Linked DNA regions of Homo sapiens: region 1 is linked to region 2. Evidence: promoter capture Hi-C in human tissues and cell types (Jung and others, 2019). All regions are on one chromosome and are shown on one strand. Each heading gives the region's core, a stretch centred on a gene start or on the middle of the fragment in contact. The rest is flanking DNA. Distances are from core to core; before and after follow the strand shown. Region 1 has its middle 7.2 kb from the start of LINC01144. Region 2 holds the start of LURAP1 (leucine rich adaptor protein 1).

Evidence for each region. Contacts are between HindIII fragments. The study calls those that stand out against the background at their distance.
Region 1: a fragment that was not itself captured here is called in contact with the fragment with the promoter of LURAP1 in region 2 in 1 of the 25 tissues and cell types used here (thymus).

What each region holds. Positions count from the first base shown.
Region 1 is chr1:45,308,970-45,313,177 of GRCh38, reverse strand. No RefSeq gene overlaps it. Among named protein-coding and RNA genes, the nearest start is that of LINC01144, 7.2 kb to the right of the region's middle. The HindIII fragment of the contact is 4,644 bases long and covers 308-4,208 here.
Region 2 is chr1:46,201,236-46,205,683 of GRCh38, reverse strand. It overlaps LURAP1 (leucine rich adaptor protein 1), which reads right to left and starts at 2,350. Exons shown (of 2, transcript NM_001013615.3): 1 at 2,060-2,350. The coding sequence starts at 2,257. It also overlaps a transcript of POMGNT1 not described here. RefSeq lists a silencer at 2,310-2,429. The HindIII fragment of the contact is 7,969 bases long and covers 1-4,448 here.

The DNA.
Region 1 (4,208 bases), core at 1,380-3,879, 890 kb after region 2:
GGGAGAAGTAATTTCATATGAGAAAGAGAAATTTCATATGAGAAAATGACTAGTTGTTTAAGAAGGAGGGATGTTCAGGACAAACCAGAAACTCCAAGCATATCATGAACAGTCTGAAATTTAAGTTGTCTGGCTTCAGTTCATAGGGCTTTAAGAAAGCACAGCTTAGTTTTCAGTGACTCCAAATTAGGAAAAATGGGGGAAAAAAAGGAGAAAAAAATAAAAACATCATTTTGAAGACTTGTAGCCAAGAAAATATTAGAATTCGGTCCAGACTGTAGAAAATAATGAAAATTGGGCTGGGCACACTGGCTCACACCTGTAATCCCAGCACTTTGGGAGGCTAAGGCAGGCGGATCACCTGAGGTCAGGAGTTGGAGACCAGCCTGACCAACATGGAGAAACCCCATCTCTACTAAAAATACAAGATTAGCTGGGTGTGGTGGCACATACCTATAATCCCAGCTACTCAGGAGGCTGAGGCAGGAGAATCACTTGAACCCAGGAGGCAGAGGTTGCAGTGAGCTGAGATCACACCATTATACCCCATCATGGTCAACAAGAGCAAAACTCCATCTCAAAAAAAAGCAAAAAGAAAATAAAAATTGAAAAAACATTAGGCAAGACTAGAATCTAACAGCAGGTGTACTGTAGCTCCAAAACATAATTTTTCTCTCTCCAGGTTCCCATTTTTACTAAAGACAAATCATCGTAGGACTGGCTTGCTTTATTATACTTGTCATAATCATTTGTATAAAGTGCAGCAAGAATAATTTTTTTTACATAAACTTTTATTTATTTATTTAATTTTATTTTTTGAGATGGAGTTTTGCTCCTGTTGCCAAGGCTGGAGTATAATGGCATTATCTCGGCTCACTGCAACTTCAGCCTCCCAGGTTCAAGCAATTCTCCTCCCTCAGCCTCCTGAGTAGCTGGGATTACAGAACGCCACCAACACGCCCAGCTAATTTTTTGTATTTTTAGTAGAGATGGGGTTTTACCATGTTGGCCAGGCTGGTCTTGAACTCCTGACCTCAGGTGATCCACCCACCTCAGCCTCCCAAAGTGCTGGGATTACAGGTGTGACCCACCGTGTCCACCATACATAGGCTTTTAAATTGGCTTTGATGGAACTTCATTACATAAGAGGAATCTCAGAAAAGACTTTTTAAAAGTCGAGCCCAGCCATGGATTTGTGCCATGAAATATCTGTGAGTTGGGTGAATTTCCTCTCCTCTTGAGGTTCCAAGATAAACCTGGGGCTTCTGGGCCTGTCAGAATGTGACGTTATTTACTTACCACACATCAGAAACCCTGCATAGGGACTGTATACACAAAATATGATGCCAGTTTTCCCAAGGGCTTTATTGGCTCCGTAAGTCAGGTTTGATTTCTCAAAGGAAAGCACACTATTCCAGTCAAAGCCTTGGTTAAATAACCAGTTTCTCCAATTGTGTCCTGTTACAAATGAAAACGGATTCTTTTTTTGTTTTTTTAGATGGAGTCTCACTCTGTCTCCCAGGCTGGAGTGCAATGGCATGATCTCATTTGATTTCAACCTCTGCCTCCTGGGTTCAAGCGATTCTCCTGCCTCAGCCTTCCAAGTAGCTGGGATTACAGGTGCACGCCACCATGCCCAGCTAAATTTTGTATTTTGAGATGGGGTTTCTCCATGTTGGTCCGGCCGGTCTTGAGCTCCTGACCTCAGGTGATTCGCCCGCCTTGGCCTCCCAAAGTGCTGGGATTATAGGCGTGAGCCTCTGCACCCGGCCAAAAACAGATTCTTATTGCACTTATGCAAATAACTGTCTTGCCATAAGTTAAGAATATTCACAAATAGCTTCTAATTTCTGAAGAAATCAGGTAGAGAGAAACAAATATGCTCCAAATTTTTTCATAGGAGTATATTAAATTGTTAAAAGCTGTCAGTAGCTCAAAAGAAGTTTTAAGACTCTCAAACACAAAACAAATGTTCAGCAAACATTTTAAGCAAAAAGTTATAAAGATTAGTTCAGTCCATGCAGTTAATTTCTGTTCTGCCTGATACTCATGAACATTTTAGCTCTCCATGAGTCCTAAAGTTTTTCTTCTATTCTGATGTCACACTCTCCAAAGTTATCAGAAACCTGCATTCAAGAACAACTGTTAGAGTTCCATAGCTGACTATAGAACCATCTTCCAAAGAGGACCAAAACAAGACAACAATTGTTCGTAGATGACAAAAGGTTTTAGGGCAGCCATAGTCAAAGACAAAATTGACAAGGAAATTTACCTCTGTGGCATACAATAATTTAACATAACAATTATAATTATTACTGATAATGTACACTAAGTTATATCAGAATTATAGGAGTTTCCCATAATATTGGAACACATATTAATAACATAATTATAGAAATACAGCCTAAAGAAAATGAGACACCATTTCATATTTGACAATGCTACCTGTATCATTTTTATACCAAATAAACCAAATTATGTCATTTTTGGACTTTAGGGAACCTAATCTCTCAAAGGATTAATTACATCAGAAAAAGACCTAATTTACAATTTGATTTTAGAAAGCTTGTTGAGTATCAAAGGTTTAAAACACTTGATATCACAAAATAGGATCACAGGTCATTGTCAAATAAGTCATTCATTTAACCAAAGTGATAACTCAATGTTTTTTTTTTTTAAAACCTTCATTCTTTGAGAGGCAACTTAATTTTCCAAGCAAGAAGACTTAAGAAAAACAGCAATAAGCTAATTAAATTTGTTTTTCAAAATTTTATAAGTGATCTAGAAAATTTTAATGTTGACCGTAAGATAGAGCTTCCATAAGCCTTTTATAAACTTTATAGGCTTTCTTTTTTTTTTTTTTTTTGAGACGGAGTCTGGCTCTGTCTCCCAGGCTGGAGTGCAGTGGCGCGATCTCGGCTCATTGCAAGCTCCACCTCCTGGGTTCATGCCATTCTTCTGCCTCAGCCTCCCGAGTGGCGGGGACTGCAGGCGCCCGCCACTACGCCCGGCTAATTTTTTGTATTTTTAATAGAGACGGGCTTTCACCATGTTAGCCAGGATGGTCTTGATCTCCTGATCTCATGATCCGCCTGCCTCGGCCTCCCAAAGTGCTGGGATTACAGGCGTGAGCTACCGCACCCAGCCTATAGCCTTTCTTAAGGAGTCAGTTAATGCTTCAAGAGGCAGGAGAGTCTCTTTTAATCTGACACAGGGGCCCATGTGCTAGTCTTTCATCAGCACATTCAAGTGCCTTTGACGTTAGTGATTAATATATAGAGAAATTGAACTTTATCTTTCAAAATCAGCCCTTAGAATCTCACGTGCCCACCTCTTCCATGATAGTCCCTGGGCCTTAAGGAGTTGAACGGCTTTAATTTTTGGCCCTGTGTCTCAGAAATGCAGTTTATTTTGACCGGCATCTTCTATGGAGCCTGATGAGGCTTTAATTGCTGTCAGTGTTTAAGATTTAGCAGGACTTGGTGTCCTTTTTGACCCAGGAGTCAAAGCCCTGTAACTCAAGGTCACAAGGACTTTAGAAGTACACACAAGAAGACACATGGATATAGTAACCTCAATTAAAAAAATTTTTGGGCTGGTCGTGGTGGCTCATGCCTATAATCCCAGCACTTTGGGAGCCCAAGGCAGGTGGATCACTTGAGGTCAGGAGTTCGAGACCAGCCTAACCAACATCATGAAATCCCGTCTCTACTAAAAATACAAAGATTAGCTGGGTATGGTGGCGTGCGCCTGTAATCCCAGCTACTCAGGAGGCTGAGGCAGGAGAATCGCTTGAACCCGGGAGGCAGAGGTTGCCTTGAGCTGAACATCCCTCCTTCTTAAACAATTAGTCATTTTATTTTAGGACTAAATTTACCATTCAATATTTTTTTTTTTTAGTAAGTGCTTTTTTTTTTTTTTTTTGAGATGGAGCCTTGCTCTGTTGCCCAGGCTGGAGTACAGTGGTGAAATCTCGGCTCACTGCAATCTCCACCTCATGGATTCAAGCAATTATCCTGTCTCAGCCTCCTGAGTAGCTGGGACTACAAGCGCATGCTGCCATGCCTGGCTAATTTTTGTATTTTTAGTAGAGATGGGGTTTCACCATGTTGGTCAGGCTGGTCCAGAACTCTTTACTTCAGGTGATCCACCCACCTTGGCCACCCAAAGTGCTGGGATTACAGGCATAAGCCACTGCTCGCAGCCAC
Region 2 (4,448 bases), core at 1,101-3,600:
CTCAGGCCCCAGGCAAGCTGGGTCAAGAATACAGAGAGACAAAATCAAAAGTTAAATGCAGCCCCTTAAAGTTTACAGATAGTTTCCACCAAGGCAGAGAAGAGAGCCAGAGACTGGGCGTGGCTCTTCCACTGACTCCCTATGTGAGTTCAGAATCTGCAAGCACGTTTTATCTGTAAGATGGGAGAAATGATGACCAGTTTTCTCATTTCAATGACATAAAATGTTCAGACTATCTGGCACAAAGCAGGTCTCAAAGTAAAGATGCAAAGTGCAGTCAGATGATCTGGGTTCAAATCATGGCCCTGCTTTTTGCGTGATGTTGGGCAGTTATTAAACTCCCTGTGCCTCTGTTTTCTTTTCTTTTCTCCTCCCTCCCTCCCTTCCTCCCTTCCTCCCCTTCTTCCCCTTCTTTTTTTGAGACAGGGTCTAGCTCTGAGCTCTGTCACCCAGGCTGGAGTGCAGTGGTGCGATTTCAGCTCACTGCAACCTCCTCTTCCTGGGCTCAAGTGATCCTCCTGCCTCTGCCTCCAGAGTAGCTAGGACTACAGGCACACACCACAACACCCATCTAATTTTTGTATTTTTTGTAGAGACAGGGTCTTGCTTTGTTGCCCAGGCTGGTCTCAAACTCCTGGGCTCAAGCGATCTGCCTGCCTCGGCCTCCCAAAGTGCTGGGATTACAGGCGTGAGCCACCATGCCCACCCTGTGCCTCAGTTTCTCCATCTATAAAATATCACTTAACAGGGTTACTGTGGAGATGAAGAGAGCATCATGTAAAGTGCTCAGCAAGCTGCCTGGCACATGCACTGGGTGAAAGTTTTCAAAGCAAGTAGACAGTCTAGATAGGCTCTTACTAGGCCTTGAGCTAAAGTTTGTACAGTGAGGCAAAGGCAAGCCCCCGCTTAGGTGGGTACAGTCACAGCCTTGCTCTGGAGAATTGGGCACTCACCTCCAACCTTCAAGGCCAAGTGCACACTTGGCATTCAAGTCCTTCTCCCAGGGGGCCTTTCCTGACTGCTCCACCCACCAGACTCTCTTCCCAGCCTCTCAGCTCAGGCGTCGGAGCCCTGGCTGGTCTCAGAGCCCCCATGATTTCCTTCCCCTTCTCCTTCACAGACCAGCTTGGCACAGGCTGGGCACACAGGAAGACTTTAGCTGACGTACTCACTGTGGGCTCCTGGTTGTGAGCCAGGAAGCCGATGGCAATTCCTCAGTTCCCCAGAACTGGCTGCAAAGTAGTGGCAGGTGTAAATCACCCACTTCACCGGAATCAGGGCCCTGGGGAACCTGCCAGGGCCTCGGCTGCCCTTTTGGCTCTGAATCTAGACCAGCAGCAATAGAGAAAGGGGAGGGTTGCTGTTTCCTCTTCTCCCCAAGAATGTACAGATGAGATCCAAATATCCAGTTTACCTGGAAGACTGGCTGGGAGGAGACTGAGTCTGAGGCGAGGGAATCAGCACCAGTGGTGCTGCTACTCTCTGTCCCTGCTATGGGTCTAGGAACTTTCCATTATTTTAAGTAGGGCTGGGGGATGTAGAGGAAACGGAGAAGGTTTTCAGTGCCCCTGGTCCAGGTAGTTTTCAGCAGATAGGCCCCTTTACCCACTTCTTTTCTGTGCGGAACACTGCGGCCTCACAGGAACTTAAACCCTTTCCCGGTTAGCAGAAGGAGAAAAAACCGGTTGCCTTACAACGGGGACTGGCGGGGAATAGGTGGCCCATACAGGCGGGGGGAATTTGTGCTGCGTTGGGTTCTCAGTACTTCCCAGTCCTCATCTCTCTCCTCCCAATTATTTGGCAGGAATAACTTCCAAAACCCACTGCTCCCAACCCAAGTCCTCAGGACCATCAACACCCCACTCACTCTTGGGGGACAAGTAATGGACGTCACTCCATCTCCACCCCAGCGTTTACGGATTGATCTGGGAGGGATTCTGAGCAGTTAGGTGGAGAGTTTTAACTACCTCCTCTCCAGCTTAACTCTGGGAGCATGAGTTCGTCCCTCCCGGCCCTACACTAGGGACTCGTCCCCTTGGCCCATGGATTCAGCACTCACCAGCTCCATCTTCAGCGCCATGATCTTGTCCCCCAAGTCGTGGCCGGTGCTAGACGCCCCTGGGAGCAGCAGGGCGCCAGAGGTTCCCAGCTCACACTCGCCTCGCAGCCCGCGGAGCAGCCCTTCAGGGGTCTTCCTGCCCACCTTACCCTCCACATCCCGCAGGTCAGGCGTCTGGGACTCCACGGTCCCCTCCATGCGGGCCCAAGCCTGAAAAGGGCTGGGCGACCGGACGCCGGGGACCGGCTCCCGGGGGTCCTCCCTTCGCCGCTGCTAAAGCGGAGCAAAACCGGTGGGTCCCCGCCCGCGCGGCGCGGGGGCGGGAGGAGGGCGCCGTAACACTCAGAAAAGCCGCGCAGCACCGTCTGTGGATGTATTCGAGTGCTGCGCACACAACCTCTGGCCCTGGATTGCGTGGGGCTGGGCGATTCTGGAGTTGGACCTGAAAGAGCACTCGGAGACCTCAGCGCCTTCGCCCCACCCTGGCACTGAATCCAGCCAGGCACACAGCAGGCGCCCAATACATGTTTGCAGAATGAAGTCTAAGCAGCTTCAGTCAGAGATGTGGGAGTTTAAGGAACAGCGGTAACAGAGAGCTGCAGAGGGCTTGGAAGTCTTCCTGGAGCAGAGGAATTGGGTATAAAACGATGACTGGATTTTAGCTAGACACACACACACACACACACACACACACACACACACACCACCCCCCCCCCCCAGGGGCTAGAATTCAGGCTAACGGAGTAGAAAAGGGCAACCAGTACTGAAGCTGAAGAGGTCCACGTTGGGCTTACAAGCAAGATGCTCCTTAAGCTTGACTGTGCGTATGAATTATCTGCGGATCTTGTTAAAATGTAGGTTCTGATTTTGTAAATCTGGGGTGGGGCTTGAGATCCTGCATTTTTTTTTTTTTTTTTTTTTTTTTTTTGAGACAGAGTCTCGCTCTGTCGCCCAGGATGTAGCGTGGTGGCGCGATCTTGGCTCACTACAAACCTCTGCCTCCCTGGGTTCAAGCAATTCTCCTGCCTCTGCCTCCTGAGTAGCTGGGATTACAGGCATGCGCCACCATGCCCAGCTAATATTTTTGTATTTTTAGTAGAGACAGGGTTTCACCATGTTGGCCAGGCTGGTCTTGAACTCCTGACTTCAAGTGATCCGCCTGCCTTGGCCTCCCAAAGTGCTGGGATTACAGGTGTGAGCCACTGCGCCCAGCCAAGATCCTGCATTTCTAATAAGCTCCCAGGTGATGGCCATGCTGCTGGTCCACACTTCAAGTAATAAGGGACCACACTTTGAGTAACAAGGTTACAGAAAATGGTTCTGAGATGTTTGGGTTTTATTTAACAGGTAATGAACAGCCATGAAAACTCTGGTTTGTTTAGGCTTTTAATTCAAGTAATTCCAGCCCATGGTTGCAGAAGGATTTACAATGAGAAGATAGTTACCCCTACCCTACCCTTTCACACCTCTAGGCCCACTCCCAATTGGCAAAAAATAACTTTTAGTTTTTTTTTTTCTTTTGGTGTTCATACCCATAACGTTATTGTTTAGAGTTAACTAAAAGTGGTTGCCAATTGGGAGTGGGCCTAGAGGTGTGAAAGGGTAGGGTAGGAGTAACTATCCTCTTATTGTAAATCCTACCACTATTTTTTCTTTTTTAGAGACAGGGTCTTCCTACATTGCCCAGGCTGGACTCAAACTCCTGGGCTCAAGCAATCCTCCTGCCTCCCAAGCAGCTGTGACTACAGGAGTATGCCACCATGCCCAGCCACACTACTTCTCAATTTTAAACATTCATCTGCTGTTTATTGTCCTATTCAGATAAATATGGATATATGGGTTTAACTCACACTCTGTAGTTCCTTTCCCCCATTGGCAATATATATTTCTTTTCTTTTCTTTCTTTTTTCTTTTTTTTTTTTTTTTTGAGATGGAGTCTCACTCTGTCGCCCAGGCTGGAGTGCAGTGGCACGATCTTGACTCACTGCAACCTGCCCTCCTGGGTTCAAGCGATTCTCCTGCCTCAGCCTCCTGAGTAGCTGGGATTACAGGCACGTGCCACCATGCCCGACTAATTTTTGTATTTTTAGTAGAGACGGGGGTTTCACCATGTTGGTCAGGCTGGTCTCGAACTCTTGACCTCGTGATCTGCCTGCCTCAGCCTCCCAAAGTGCTGGGATTACAGGTGTGAGCCACTGCGCCCGGCCTGGCACTACATATTTCTATCACTCTTTTTAGTTCATCTAAGGTTACCTTTGTAATTAACTTTTTTTAAAATTTAGATAGAGTCTCGCTATGTTGCCCAGGCTGGTCTCGAACTCCTGGCCTCAAGCAATCCTCCCACCTTAGCCTCCCAAAGTGCTGGGATTACAGGCATGAGCCACCATGC